Regions from separate parts of the Homo sapiens genome. Here all the other regions are linked to region 1. The links are contacts of gene promoters, found by promoter capture Hi-C in blood cells and fetal thymus (Javierre and others, 2016). All regions are on one chromosome and are shown on one strand. The core of a region is centred on a gene start or on the middle of the fragment in contact, and the rest is flanking DNA. Distances in the headings are between cores, read along the strand shown.

Region 1 (4,549 bases), core at 2,004-4,503:
CGAAACTCTGTCTCAAAAAAAAAGAAAAGACAGTAGCATATGTTCATGTCAAGCACCTCTCATCACAGTCGAGTTCCAAGGAAAAATTCCAGTGTTTTCTGCATTGGGTGCTGTGTCATCTGAAATCGGCACATTCCATGGAGGAAGGAGTCCTGCTTTGTTGCATGTATCCTAGGGTTTAATGTTGGTAAATGAGTCACTCTAGCATTTGTAGAAGGCTCCCTGAGACTCCTGCAGCAGTCGACCAAGCCCAAGGACATAATTGAATCTGGAGAGTCCTGGGGCCTTGTTTTGAAAAAGACTTGAAATACACATAGGAAGAAAGGCATAAAAATAAATGTTCACTTGTCTCTGCTGTGAGTATGTGTTCCAACTTTTCAGTGATGGCTTTGAGAATTCTCAAACTTGACTGGCTCTAAGTGTATCTGGTGGCTTTTGTATCGTAACCTGAAACTGGCTTAGTACTTTTTCCTAAAAGCTCAGGATTTGAGAATGAGGACCCCTTCGCCAGGAAAACATGTATACACTCAAAATTTTGCTTGCAGTTCTAGGGTGTTTAGACCCTTCTCAGATACCTGTGCATCTTATGGGTTTTGTTTTTCTCTTTGAGACAGTCTCACCCTGTTGCCCAGGCTGGAGCGCAGTGGCATGATCTCAGCTCATTGCAGCCTCCACCTCCTGGGTTCAAGTGATTCTGCCTCAGCCCCTTGATCAGCTGGGATTACATGCATGTACCACCACACCCAGCTAATTCTTGTATTTTTAGTAGAGATGGAGACAGAGTTTCACCATGTAGGCCAGGCTAGTCTCAAACTCCTGACCTCAAGTGATCCACAAGCCTGGGCCTCCCAAAGTGCTGGGATTACAGGCATGAGCAACTGCGCCCAGCTCTTGTGTACCTTATGTGAGGAAGTCCTGCTCAATCAGGATCGGTCACGCAGGCCCTGATCTTGCTACTCTGGTTCCATGTCCTATGGAAGACCAAAGTTTACCAAGATAGATTTTTCCCTTCATAGTGGCAGATAGTGTTAACCCCTGCACCATCTGTAACTCAGAAATCCCCACCATTTCTTCCCCTGGGCTTCAGAATAGAATTGCCTGGTTTCTCTGATGATCAGCATGGTTCCTTAAAACCCAAATCAGCAAGGAATGAACAATTTTGTTTGGCATGGATGAAATTAGCACTGTTTGGCTCGTTAGGCCCCAGGCAGGCAGGCACCTTAATTTTTTCCTTGCATATTCTAGTCTTCAGAAGCATTGCCTTTTGTCCTACTGGTAGTGACATAGACCAATAACAGGGCATCTGGGGATTTTAATCCTGAAAACAGTGAGTCTGATACTGCTTGTGTTTTTCATCAGTGTCCACCCCAAGTGGGTCTTCCTGCTATTCTCTTCACTTAGTTGCCCCTCACTTGCCATCTGAGCAATTGGCAAGGATGTGCCAGGCCTAGGTTAAACTTGGAAACATGCTTGACCATTCTATTCCCTGGTCCTTTAAGATCAGTTTGGCTGCAATTTTGGCTCCTTGGACCCTCAAGCATAGCTGGTAAATCAAGTTAGAGATGTAACTGCCTTAAAACATGCCAGCTTAGGCTGGGCACGGTGGCTCACACCTGTAATCTCAACACTTCAGGAGGCTGAGGCAGGCAGATCACTTGAGGTCAGGAGTTCGAGACCAGCCTGACCAACATGGAGAAATTCTGTCCCTACTGAAAATACAAAATTAGCCGGATGTGGTGGTGCATGCCTGTAATCCCAGCTACTTGGGAGGCTGAGGCAAGAGAATTGCTTGAACCCAGGGAGGCAGAGGTTGCAGTGAGCCGAGATCACACCATTGCACTCCACCTTGGGCAACAAAAGCAAAACTCTGTCTCAAAAAAAAAAAAAAAAAAAGTGCCAGCGTATGAGGTAATTAGATTGGTTCTCTCCAGAGGTAACCTGCCAAGAAGAGATGCTATAGATGTTACTCCTATACTGTAAAACATTGTGAAATCAGATTACTTTAAAATGATGTATTACAAAGTTATGCAAAAAAGCAGTTGTGACTATGGAAGCCCAAGGCTTATATCCCAGCTCTGTCTTACACTAAATATGGGTACAGTGTTTCCACTCTGTCCATAAAATGGGAGCTAATATTCTCCAACCTGTGTGCCTGACATGATGGTTAAAGGGATTAAACAAAACAATAGTTTGTAATTTATTCTGTCAGAGCAAACTGCTGGTAAATAAAAGGGACTAAGTTGACGAAAAATAAATTTTAAAAAACCTAATAAAACAAGTTTGTAATTTATAATTGTATACAAATAAAAGATGTTACAAAAATTGCGCACTTATATGTATGTACCATGACATAACTAATTCGTTGAACAAGTTGTGAGACAATCCTTTCTGAGAAAAGGTAGACCTGTTACATCGTCTGTGGGTTAGGGTCATGTCAGCACGTACCAGGTACATTCTAGCTTTTGTAGAGAAAGTAAAATCTAGTGTTGAGTATGTAGGCACTGAGCCAGGTGGCCTGCTTAACATAAAAGGACTGATTTCAGGGTGGCTGTGGGAGCCTTTCTAATGCTCTAATTCTCTAGCCCCTTGCCTGATCCAGCTGATTCCAAGAGCCAAGATTTTAGTCTTTCTTGGTTGGCTTTTTTAAATGCTTTGGGCTTTCCTTTAATGTATCTTCAAAATCATTCTGGGGCCAAGTTACATCATAAAACATTTTATTACATATAAGGACTGAAACAGGATTTTTCTTAACTGTAACATGGTCCACAAATGTAAATGCAAAACCCCCATGGTGGTTGCAGGAGCAAGTCTAGTTGAGACAGGTCAGGACGAAAGCATAAAAGATGAGTAACTGAATGGCATCCCGGGTCCTGTAGCCACGCCCTCCAGATCGCCGCCGCAAAGGACCTGGAACCTCAGGGGCCCACTGTATGCCATGAAGAAGGCGCAGTCGCTGCCTCAACCAAGCCAGGCTCCGCCGGGGCCGTTCCTATCCTGAGGGTCGGAGGGGGAAGGGACTCAGCCAAAGCCGCGGCCTCCCAGGGCTTGGGCCTCCGCGGCAGCCGGGACGCTGTGGGTTCGCCGTGGATCGCCGCGATGTGGCGTTTCTCCAGGCCCGGGAGTTCCTGGCCCTGCTGGACCAGCTGCAGGAGCTGCGCCAGGGTAACCGAAGCTGAGGCAGAGGCCGGGGCCGAGCATTGGGGACTGCGGGGACGCTCCATGTCGGGTCGCGAATCCTGACCGGCGTGTAATGCAGAGAAGCGAGCACTTCCGGGCCGAATGGGTGCAACCACCATGGGGGAGGTGGGGAAAGGAAAGGGAGGCTGTAGACCGTACCAAGCCGGCCCAGAACTGGGGGAGCACTTGACAACTCTGACCAGCTCCCTGCAGAAACGCTTTAGAAGCGTCCACGATTTAGCCAAACCCAGAGTGCCCAACGGACGCGCCAAAGAAGAAAAACGGACGGACGTGCCAAAACTTGAAGGCTAGCACAGGACAGAACAAGCCTGCGGACGCGCCGCTGCGGGCAAAAAGACCCATACATACATAAGCACCGCGCACATGCCCATTTTCATGCACACCCCCGGGCGCGCGTACAAGGATTCAGATACAACGCATGGCGGGGGATAATCCCCATACTAGGCTCCGCAGCACGGGACAAAGCATAACTGTAGAGTTGTTCCCAGAGGCCTCAGGAGTGACACCGCCACCAAGCCACGCTACTCTCTTAGTTGTTATTATTGTTTTGTGTTGTTTTAGACGGAGTCTCACTCTGTTGCCCAGGCCGGAGTGCAGCGATGCGATCTCAGCGCACTGCAACCTCCGCCTCCTGGTTCAAGCGATCCACAGGGTCCCTAGTGCCTCAGCCTCCCTAGTAGCTGGTGTATGCCACCAAGCCCAGCTAATTTTTGTATTTTTAGTAGAAACAGGGTTTCACCATGTTGGCTAGGCTAGTCTCGAACTCCTGACCTTAAGTGATGCACCCGCCTCAGCTTTCCAAAGTGCGGGGATTACAGGTGTGAGCCACCGCACCCAGCCAGAGCCTCACCACTTTCTTCACACTTCCTGCCATCCTTCAATTCTTGGTGGTCCCAGAGAAGATCGAAGGTGAAAGCAGGTCAGATGTGCTACAGCTGCTCTGACTGCTCGGAAAGTCAGGTTTTTAAATTATCAAAAGTGGCCGGGCACGGTGGCTCACACTTGTAATCCCAGCACTTTGGGAGGTGGAGGCAGGTGGATCTCAAGGTCAGGAGTTTGAGACCAGCCTGACCAACATGGGGCAACCCCCGTCTCTACTAAAAATACAAAAATTAGCTGGGTGTGGTGGCATGCACCTGTAATCCCAGCTACTCAGGAGGCTGAGGCAGGAGAATCGCTTGAACCTGGGAGGCAGAAGTTGCAGTGAGCTGAGATTGCAGCACTGCACTCTACCCTCGGTGACACAGCAAAACTCTGTCTCAAAAAAAAAAAAAAAAAGTATCAAAAGCTAGACTGATCTGGTGAACATCACCTTAATCAAAGAATCAAAGCTTAATGGCCAGGCGTGGTG
Region 2 (4,750 bases), core at 2,212-4,711, 260 kb before region 1:
CTGAATAACTCCCCTGGTTTTTGTTTTGGTTTTGGTTTTTGGGGTTTTCGTTTGTTTTTACGAGTCAAGGCCTTGCTGTGTTGCCCAGGCTGGCCTCGAAATCCTGAGCTCAAGCAGTCCTCAACCTCAGCCTCACAAGTAGCTGGAACTATAGACAGGAGCCACTGTGGCCAGCTACTTCCTGTTTTAATGGGACATTAGTAATGAACCATCGTAGTAGTAGTAGCAGTAGTAGTAGTAGCAGTAGCAGTAGTAGTAGTAGTAGTAGTAGTAGTAATGAACCACTCTATTATTATTTACTTTTTTTTTTTTTTTAATTGAGAGAGTCTTGCTCTGTCGCCTAGGCTGGAGTGCAATGGCATGATCTCGGTTCACTGCAACCTCTGCCTCCTGAGTTCAAGCGGTTCTCCTGTCTCAGCCTCCCGAGTAGCTGGGATTACAGGAGCCCACCACCACGCCCAGCTAATTTTTGTGTTTTTTAGTAGAGATATGGTTTCACCATGTTGGCCAAGCTAGTCTCGAACTCCTGACCTTAGGTGATCCACCCACCTCGGCCTCCCTTGCTGGGATAACAGGCATAAGCCACTGCACCCAGCCTATTTTTTTTTTTTGATACCCCTAAAGACAATTAGAATCTAATCCAAAATTGTGCAGTATGTGAACCATCTCTGTTAACATTCACCTGAAACTAAAAATGCTAGTAAGTGCCTTGGTTTGGTGGGGGTTTACATTCTAACAATATCGTCTCTCCACCAAACTTCCTCTTACTGCCTGCTTTAAGTCCTGAAGTTTTCAAACTCAGTTTTATATTTACAGATTTTCTACTTATCTGCTGACTTTAGAATTTAACATCTATATTAGAATACAGTTTTAATATATTCTTAGACTTCTGTCTTCTGCATTTTTGTTTCTGCTTATTTGGGGTTTTTTTGTTTTTTGTTTTTAAGACAGGGTCTCACTCTGTCGCCCAGGCTGGAGTGGCGTGATCATGGCTCACTGCAGCCTTGACCTCCCAGGCTCAGGTGATTTTCCCACCTCAGCCTCCCAGGTAGCTGGGAATACAGGTACATGCCACCACACCCAGCTAATTGTTTTATTTTTTATAGAGACAGGGTTTCACTGTGTTGCCCAGGCTGGTCTCGAACTGGGCTCAAATAATCCGCCTGCCTCAGCCTCCCAAAGTGCTGGCGTTACAGACGTGAGCTACTGCACCTGGCCTTGTTCTACGTTTTGATGAAACTTTTTCTGTTGCTAATTACCTAATCTTGACTTATGCGAGGCCTGTTTAAGTTGTCACCCAGCATCAATAACACTCTAGAATCCTAGGAGAGATTAGCTGTTGAGGCTGGAAAATGTCAGGGTGAGGATCCATGATCTTTTGTATCAGAGTGCAAAATGAAGTATTCAAAGTAACATTAGACTTTCTGACTCTATTAGGGCAGAGATTAACACCATCAAAATGGCAAAGAGCAAAATGTTTGAAGTTATATTGTGTTATGGAGGGCATGAGAGGGCATGGCCCACATTGTAGGTAGAAAGAGAAATTGTTGAGCCTCTTTGTGGAAACAATTTGGTGATATCATTAAAATTTATTATGTGCATACTCTTTAACCGATTACTTCCACTTTTAGGAAATTACTCTATAAATATTCCTACAACTATACACAGTGGATATTTGTTGCAACATCTTTTTTAATAGCATAAAACTGGAAACAACCCAAATGTCTGACCAGTAAAAGCTTGGCTAAATAAAATCTGATACAAAAGTAGACCTGGTTAAAAAGAATGACGAGCATTTGTATGAACTGATATGGGACATTGTCCCATATCAAGTAAAAAAATGTACAAAACAATATAATATGCTATCTTTTGTAGGAAAAAGATAGATATACATACTTGTGTATACTTAATACACACTTTATGTATTTATACATTTTATATATGTGTGTGTATTATGTAGTATATACTCTGATTTTATATATATATATATATATATATATATATAAATACAGGTTCTGTAATTATATATATATAAAATACACATACATATACCATCTCTGCAAGAATATGCAAGGAACTACGATTAACAAGATTTGCCTTTAGAAAGAAGACCTCAGGAGCTAGGAGACTCCCTGTTGCATTTAGTATGATTTACATGTATTTGCTTATTTAAAAAAAAAAAAAATATATATATATATATATATATGTACACACATGCACACACACACAAACAAAAAATAAATCTCAACTAAGGAAATAAAGAGAAAATATTGTTTCATACTGAGTTCTAGAGAATCTGTGTCGTAAACCTCTGGATCCTAGAATAACTATACCATACCATTATAGGTGTCTAAATGTCTCAGTTAAGGAAAATTTGCAGCCTGATTCAGAGCCCCCACCCTGAATTTATCTTTGAGTAATGAGCCTTGGAACTGTCTTCTAACATTCTGGCATCTTTCTGGCATCTGGTATAATTGTTGCTTCATACACATGGCAATTGGAGTAAGTAATTGTTATTTAGAAATACACAGTAATGCATTTATGATATATAGTTGTGTTGAAAAAGGTTTAAACTGAAGGAGCTAAACAATGTTGGTGACTTTTTTTTTAGTCTTCCTAGTACATAGTTTTTGATTACCATGCACTCTGATAAACTTTGTTTTTAGGCTCGAATGCTCATCACAGAAGAAAACTTAATGAGCATTATCATTAAGACTTTTATGGATCATTTGAGACATCGAGATGCCCAGGGCAGATTTCAGTTTGAACGATACACTGCTTTACAAGCCTTCAAATTTAGGAGAGTACAGAGCCTTATTTTAGATCTCAAGTAAGTTTTCATTTAATTATTAAACCAGTTGCAATTTATAGAAAGTCAATGTTTATGTTAATTGCCACTGTCACTTTTATCTTGTTCAGGTATGTGTTAATTAGCAAACCAACTGAATGGTCAGATGAGCTGAGGCAGAAGTTCCTAGAAGGGTTTGATGCCTTTTTGGAATTACTAAAATGTATGCAGGTATGTAAAAACTGTTACACTTTTCTTTTTCCTTTTTTTTTTTTCTCTTTTCTCTTTTTTTTTTTTTTTTTAATTTTTCTTTTTCTTTTTAAGAGATGGGGGTCTCACTGTGTTGCCCAGGGTGGAGTGTAGTGGCTAGTCATAGACACAACCATAGTGTACTATACCTTTGAACTCCTGGTCTCTGGCAGTTCTCCTGCCTCAGCCTCCAAAGTTGCCTGGGACTAGAGGCGCAGGCACGGGCCCAGGCCCAGCTTCTTTGTTGTTGTTGTTGTTGTTGTTGTTGTTGTTCATTGAAATGAACAGCTTTCTGTCTGCGCATCTTTTCATTTCGTGCACATTTCCAAAAGATCAATTTGGATGGCTGCAATTCTGACCAGGAAGCTCCTCTTTAATTGGAAATTCTTAGAAAGGTATGGAGCAAAGGAGATCCCAGCAAACATTCCGGCATCTACTGCTCTTGGGTTTTTTCTGTGTTGGTTTTTTTTGTTTTGTTTTGTTTATGAGATGGAGTCTCACTCTGTCGCCCAGGCTGGAGTGCAGTGGCGCAATCTCAGCTCACTGCAATCTCCACCTCCAGAGTTCAAGTGAATATCCTGCCTCAGCCTCTCAAACAGCTGGAATTACAGGTATACACCACCACACCAGCTAATTTTTTGTATTTTTAATAGAGATAGGGTTTCACCAAGTTGTCCAGGCTGGTCTCGAACTCCTGACCTCAAGTGATCCACCCACCTCAACCTCCCAGAGTGCTGGGATTACCGGCATGAGCCACCGCACCTGGCCAGTTTTTGGGGTTGTTTTTTTGTTTGTTTTTTGTTTTGTTTTGTTTTGTTTTGTTTGAGACATAGTTTTTCACTCTGTTGCCCAGGCTGGAGTACAATGGCACAATCCTGGCTCACTGCAACCTCCGCCTCCTGGGTTCAAGTGATTCTCTGACCTCAGCTTTTTGAGTAGCTGGGATTACAGGCACCTGCCACCATGCCTGGCTATTTTTTGTATTTTTAGTAGAGACGAGGTTTCACCAAGTTGTCCAGGCTGATTTCAAACTGCTGACCTCAAGTGATCCGCCCACCTCGGCCTCCCAATGTGCTGGGATTACAGGCATGAGCCACTGCGCCAGCCACTTTTATATTTCTTTGGTTTCCACTAATGTTCTTTCTTTAGAGGTTACAAGTTTATTTTTTTAATATGCTTTCTTGGAAGTATAGTCAAGTTATTTGAGAAACTGTAGTGGTTTTTGATTTTGCTTTTTAATGTTTCCATGTTTCTTTTTCTCTCCTTCATGTGGTATTTATATAATACAGTGTAGACCTTTTTCCCCTGTTTAATTCTCTTTTTAGGAAACATCCCTATATACAAAACAGAATCTAGAAGTAGAAACGAACAGGTATATTTAACCAGTTATAACTGTAAGAAGATAGGTGACGTCTCTAAAAATCTGAGCAAGTACTATTATGATTTCTTTAGTAGCCACCTGGCTTTCTTAAGAAAAGGAATGACCAAAGTTGACTTACCATTTTTATTTTTATTTGTTTGAATTTATTTTTATTTATTTATTTATTTTGGAGGTGGAGGTTTGCTCTATCGCCCAGGCGGGAGTGCAGTGGCGCGATCTTGGCTCACTGCAACCTCTGCCTCCCAGGTTCAAGCAATTCTTCTGCCTCAGCCTCCCGAGTAGCTGGGATTACAGGTGCACGCCACCACACCTAGCTCATTTTTGTATTGTTA
Region 3 (4,665 bases), core at 1,441-3,940, 320 kb before region 1:
GTAGTAAGATAGTGAATGCTTATTACTCTCTTATGCCACATGGGTGTGACAGCTACAAGTGTCTGAAATAAAGACAAAAGGCCAACCAAACTGGAAATCTTAATTTTTCATGTTGAAGAAACAGTTGCAGTTAGCATATGTTAGAACTAATATGAAAAGCTATAGATTTTATTCTTTGGGGAAATGTGTGAGCTACTTCTGAAAGACAGTCATAAATTTTTCTTGCTTTTTATATTAAGTATGTATGTTTAATCAGCTTAAAGTGCCTGTAATAGAGCCCAAATCTTTTAGGTGATTGTGATTTTTTCATATAATGGTAGTAAAGTTTTTGGTTTTGAGACGGAGTCTCACTCTGTCCTCCAGGCTGGAGTACAGTGGCGTGATCTAGGCTCACTGCAACCTCCACCTCCTGAGGTCAAGCGATTCTTTTGCCTCAGCCTCCCAAGTAGCTGGGATTACAGGCGTGCACCACCACTCCTGGCTAATTTTTGTATTTTTAGTAGAGATGGGGTTTCACCATGTTGGCCATGGTGGTCTCGAACTCCTGGCCTCAAGTGATCTGCCCACCTTGGCCTCCCAAAGTGCTGGGATTATAGGCGTGAGCCACTGTGCCCAGGAGTAGTAAAGATTTGAAAAATGGGGAGCATATGCATGCCTTTCTTGGACCAGACTTTTAAGTCTTGTTATTTATAATAATATGTAATAAAGAGTGAAATACTTGCTTGTTTTACTAATAATATTTTTATGTAAAGTGGCTAGTTTTTTTTTTGTTGTTTGTTTGTTTTTTGAGACAGGATCTCACTCTGTCACCCAGGCTGAAGTGCAGTGGCGTGATCATGCCTCACTGAAGCCTCAACCTCCGGGGCTCAGGTGATCCTCCCACCTCAGCCTCCTGAGTAGCTGGGACTACAGGCATGCACCACCATGCCCAGCTAATCTTCTTTTATTTTTAGAAGAGACAGGGTTTTGCCATATTGCCCAAGCTAGACTCGAACCTCTGAACTCAAATGAGCCACCCGCCTTGGCCTCCCAAGTGCTGGGATTACAGGCATGAGCCAAAGAGCCTGGCCGATTTTTTTTTTTTTTCTTAACCAGAAGCTGATACTAGCGTCTGAATTTTTGTTGAAGAAATCTATGAACAAATTTGCTCTCGTTACAGTTACTAGACTGCATAATTTTTTTTTAGAAAGCATCCATGCTAGCCTGTAGTCCCAGCTACTTGGGAGGCTGAGGCAGGAGAATGGCGTGAACCTGGGAGGCGGAGCTTTCAGTGAGCCGAGATCGCGCCACTGCACTCCAGCCTGGGTGACAGAGCAAGACTCCGTCTCAAAAAAAAAAAAAAAAAAAAAAAAGCATCCCTTCTAAAGTAACCTTTCATTCTTGTATTAAAATTTTGCAACAGTGAAGTTTTACAGGAATGGGAACATAAAATATAAGGAAAAAAACTGGTTTTTAAATAAAATCTTTCAATATGTTGTAAAAAAAAGTCCGAAGCACTTAACTTTCTAGGATCATGGAGGTGAATTATTTTGGTCTTATTGCTTAATTTTTCTTTCATAAAGAGTAAATTGAATCCTAGCACCTTTGGGAGGCCGAGGTGGGCAGATCACCTGATGTCAGGAGTTTGAGACAAGCCTGGTCAACATAGTGAAACCTTGTCTCTACTAAAAATACAAAAATTAGCCGCGTGTGGTGGTGCACACCTGTAACCCCAGCTACTCAGGAGGCTGAGGCAGGAGAATCACTTGAACCTGGGAGGCAGAGGTTGCAGTGAGCCGAGATCGTACCACTGCACTCCAGCCTGGGCGACAGCACGAGACTCAAAAAAAAAAAAAAAAAAAAGCGCTTAGGATCATTTGACTACCTTCATTCTTGTTTTGGTTTGCTGACAATGGGTGAAAAATGAGACATTTACCTTTGAATGAGGCCAAAACGAGGTCTTTTAGCTCAAAGAATAAGATTCTAGTATGCTTGTTGAGGACTCTTTTTCTTTTTTTAAAACTTGTCCTCTTTATAATTACTGAGCTTAAAGGATGTGTATGTATATATAAAATTTTGATTGAGTCACTCTGAAGGGAGAGAATACTTAAAGCCTGTAGGATTGTCTCCTAAGAAATGATGCTGCTGCTGCTGTTTTATTTTTATTTTTATTTTTTTTTCCCTAACCACTTGGCCACCAGGGAAGAAATGCTGTTGTTTTGAAAGTAATTTAGTCTCTTTCCTACTTGCATAATGTAAACACAACAATGTTAGTAATATTTGGAAAATAGTTTAGTTTCACTTTAAGCATGAAAACTCTTTCACCGTTTTTGGTTATAAGCTTCTATCCAGTCCCTTAACTTATGAACAAAATTTTTACATTTTTAGTAAAAGTTCTCTGAAAACAGAAATTGACTAGAAAGTTAATATACATCACCTCATGCATATTTAAAATCTCTCTGTATGTTGTTTTTAGAAGGAGTGGTCTGAAGAATATACAAGTAATAGCTAAAATGAAGACCTTATGTTGACTTCTTATGATGTTACATATCACTTGAACATACTTTTTTTTTTTTTTTAAATAAAAATGTAACTGGAATTAGGTAGTAATCCATAGGTAAACATTGGAGGTTTTTTTTAATTTCAGCTTTTACTTTAGATTTAAGGAATACATGTGCAGGTTTGTTACATGAGTATATTGCACCTGGGTAGTGAGCATAGTACCCAATAGGTAGTTTTTCAACTCACTTCCCCTTCCTCTTTCCCTCCATCTGTGGGTTTTGTTCACGGTTCAGTTAACTGCATTCTAGCAGAAGTGAGTCTTTTTTTTTTTTTGTCCTTTGAGACAGACTCTTGCTCTGTCGCCCAGGCTGGATCTTGGCTCACTACAACCTCTGCCTCCTGGGTTTAAGCGATTTCTCCTGCCTCAGCCTCTTGAGTAACTGTGATTACAGGCATGCGCCACCACATCCAGCTAATTTTTATATTTTTAGTAGAGAAGAGACTTCACCATGTTGGCCAGGCTGGTCTTGAACTCCTGACCTCAGGTGATCTGCTTGGCCTGGCCTCCCAAAGTGCTGGGAAGCTTTTCAGATTTTTCGGTGTGGATACCCAGGTTGAGCTGGAAATGGAGAAAATAACAGATTTTGGTGGAGCATGGAGGGGAGATCATGCATTCAGTTATTGAGTTGGTACCTATGAGATCTAAGTAGAATCATGCTTTAAAATTTGTTTTTAGTGGGGAGAGCAAACGGAAAAGGCCTTATAGAGAGAGAGAAGTTGATCAGAGAAAGAAGGCATAATTGGTACAACAGTCTCTTGTGGACTGACTTATTCAATAAGAGACTGGTATATAAACTTGCTTATCAATCATTAAGAAATGTGTATTGGCTGTTCATGTTCACCGTACATATTGGCTGTTCATATTCACCGTACACTCTTCCTATGGACAAACTGACGTGAGAATTGATATCACAATGAGAATAACATTTGAGCAAAGCATTAGGAAGGACATTAGGTGAGCTCAATGGTTCATATCTTATATAATGATTTCTTGTAATTATTTTCTGGTACTGCCTAGAGAAGATTGCTTCAAGAGTCATTTTGCAGGGAAGGAGGGAGGCTTGTTTCATTTTAATTTTACTTACACTTAAAAGTAGGATTTAAACATACTTGGCATTTTAATAGATTAAATTTCTAACGTACGGTGGTGAGTGTTGTAAACAAAATATTTTAATATGCTTTTGTCATTATTTTTGTACCTAAAAGAAAGTAGGGTGAATTTGTTCAAATTAGTTTGTTGGTGTTTAAAACCATTTCTTCTCTTTTCTTCTTTTAAAGAAATGGCTGCAAGCAACTGACCTCACTAGAGAAGTGTACCAGCATTTAGCCCACTATGTACCCAAAATCTACTGCAGGGGTCCCAACCCTTTTCCACAGAAAGAAGACATGCTGGCACAGCATGTTTTGTTGGGACCAATGGAATGGTACCTTTGTGGTGAAGATCCTGCATTTGGATTTCCAAAACTTGAGCAAGCAAACAAACCTTCTCATCTTTGTGGTCGTGTTTTTAAAGTAGGAGAGCCTACATATTCTTGCAGGTAAAATATTTTAATTTTCTTTCTAGGAGGCTCTTGTTTTATTTGACCTCTTTTTTTCCCTGGAACTTTTGAGTTTTTGTTTAAAAATTATGAAATACCATATCTGCTTAAAAATCTGTATTACAAATACATGCTATTTAATAAATAATTAAAGCAAACATTTTTGTAATTATTCTTGATCAAAAAAAATTGTCACCAGCATTCTTGAAGCCCACTGTGTGCTTTCTTCCTTCCCCCATAATTAACTGACATCTTGACTCTTGCAATAATCACTTTCTTGCTTTTCTTGATATTTTTTAGTTACAGTAATTCTGATGTTCAAATTGCCATAGATTTGGCTAGTGAGAGCCCCGTCACACCATCTTGTCTTTTTCACATGCCTTCATTAGTTTGTGGGTGCTTCTTTCCTTTCTGGCACAAGATGCCCCAGCTCACTTTGTACTTGCTCTGACCCGTATGTACAATCAGCTATTTCTTTAAAGATTTTTCTTTCATTTGGGAATGGTAGTTAGAAACCAAGATCTGGGTGCTGTATGCATTTACTGCTGTTAGGAAGACTTTTCTTTTTTAAATTTCTTGGTGAAAA

Evidence for each region. The method cuts DNA at HindIII sites, captures the fragments that hold promoters and counts their contacts. A CHiCAGO score of 5 or more calls a contact.
Region 2: a contact is called between a fragment that was not itself captured here and the fragment with the promoter of PEX39 in region 1, in 1 of 17 cell types (total CD8 T cells). The highest score is 5.3, in total CD8 T cells.
Region 3: a contact is called between a fragment that was not itself captured here and the fragment with the promoter of PEX39 in region 1, in 1 of 17 cell types (total CD8 T cells). The highest score is 5.4, in total CD8 T cells.

What each region holds. Positions count from the first base shown.
Region 1 is chr6:42,887,568-42,892,116 of GRCh38, forward strand. PEX39 (peroxisomal biogenesis factor 39) reads right to left here and starts at 3,254. Exons shown (of 1, transcript NM_001008739.2): 1 at 2,698-3,254. The coding sequence starts at 3,221. The coding sequence ends at 2,916. RPL7L1 (ribosomal protein L7 like 1) reads left to right here. Exons shown (of 6, transcript NM_001366481.3): 6 at 1-2,333. RefSeq lists enhancers at 2,746-3,595, 3,656-3,705. The HindIII fragment of the contact is 5,960 bases long and covers 1-4,527 here.
Region 2 is chr6:42,629,886-42,634,635 of GRCh38, forward strand. It overlaps UBR2 (ubiquitin protein ligase E3 component n-recognin 2), which reads left to right. Exons shown (of 47, transcript NM_001363705.2): 12 at 2,667-2,830; 13 at 2,920-3,019. Among named protein-coding and RNA genes, the nearest start is that of UBR2, 68 kb to the left of the region's middle. RefSeq lists an enhancer at 1-59. The HindIII fragment of the contact is 3,448 bases long and covers 1,738-4,750 here.
Region 3 is chr6:42,569,915-42,574,579 of GRCh38, forward strand. UBR2 (ubiquitin protein ligase E3 component n-recognin 2) reads left to right here. Exons shown (of 47, transcript NM_001363705.2): 2 at 3,820-4,079. Among named protein-coding and RNA genes, the nearest start is that of UBR2, 8.2 kb to the left of the region's middle. RefSeq lists enhancers at 2,846-2,905, 2,996-3,045. The HindIII fragment of the contact is 744 bases long and covers 2,319-3,062 here.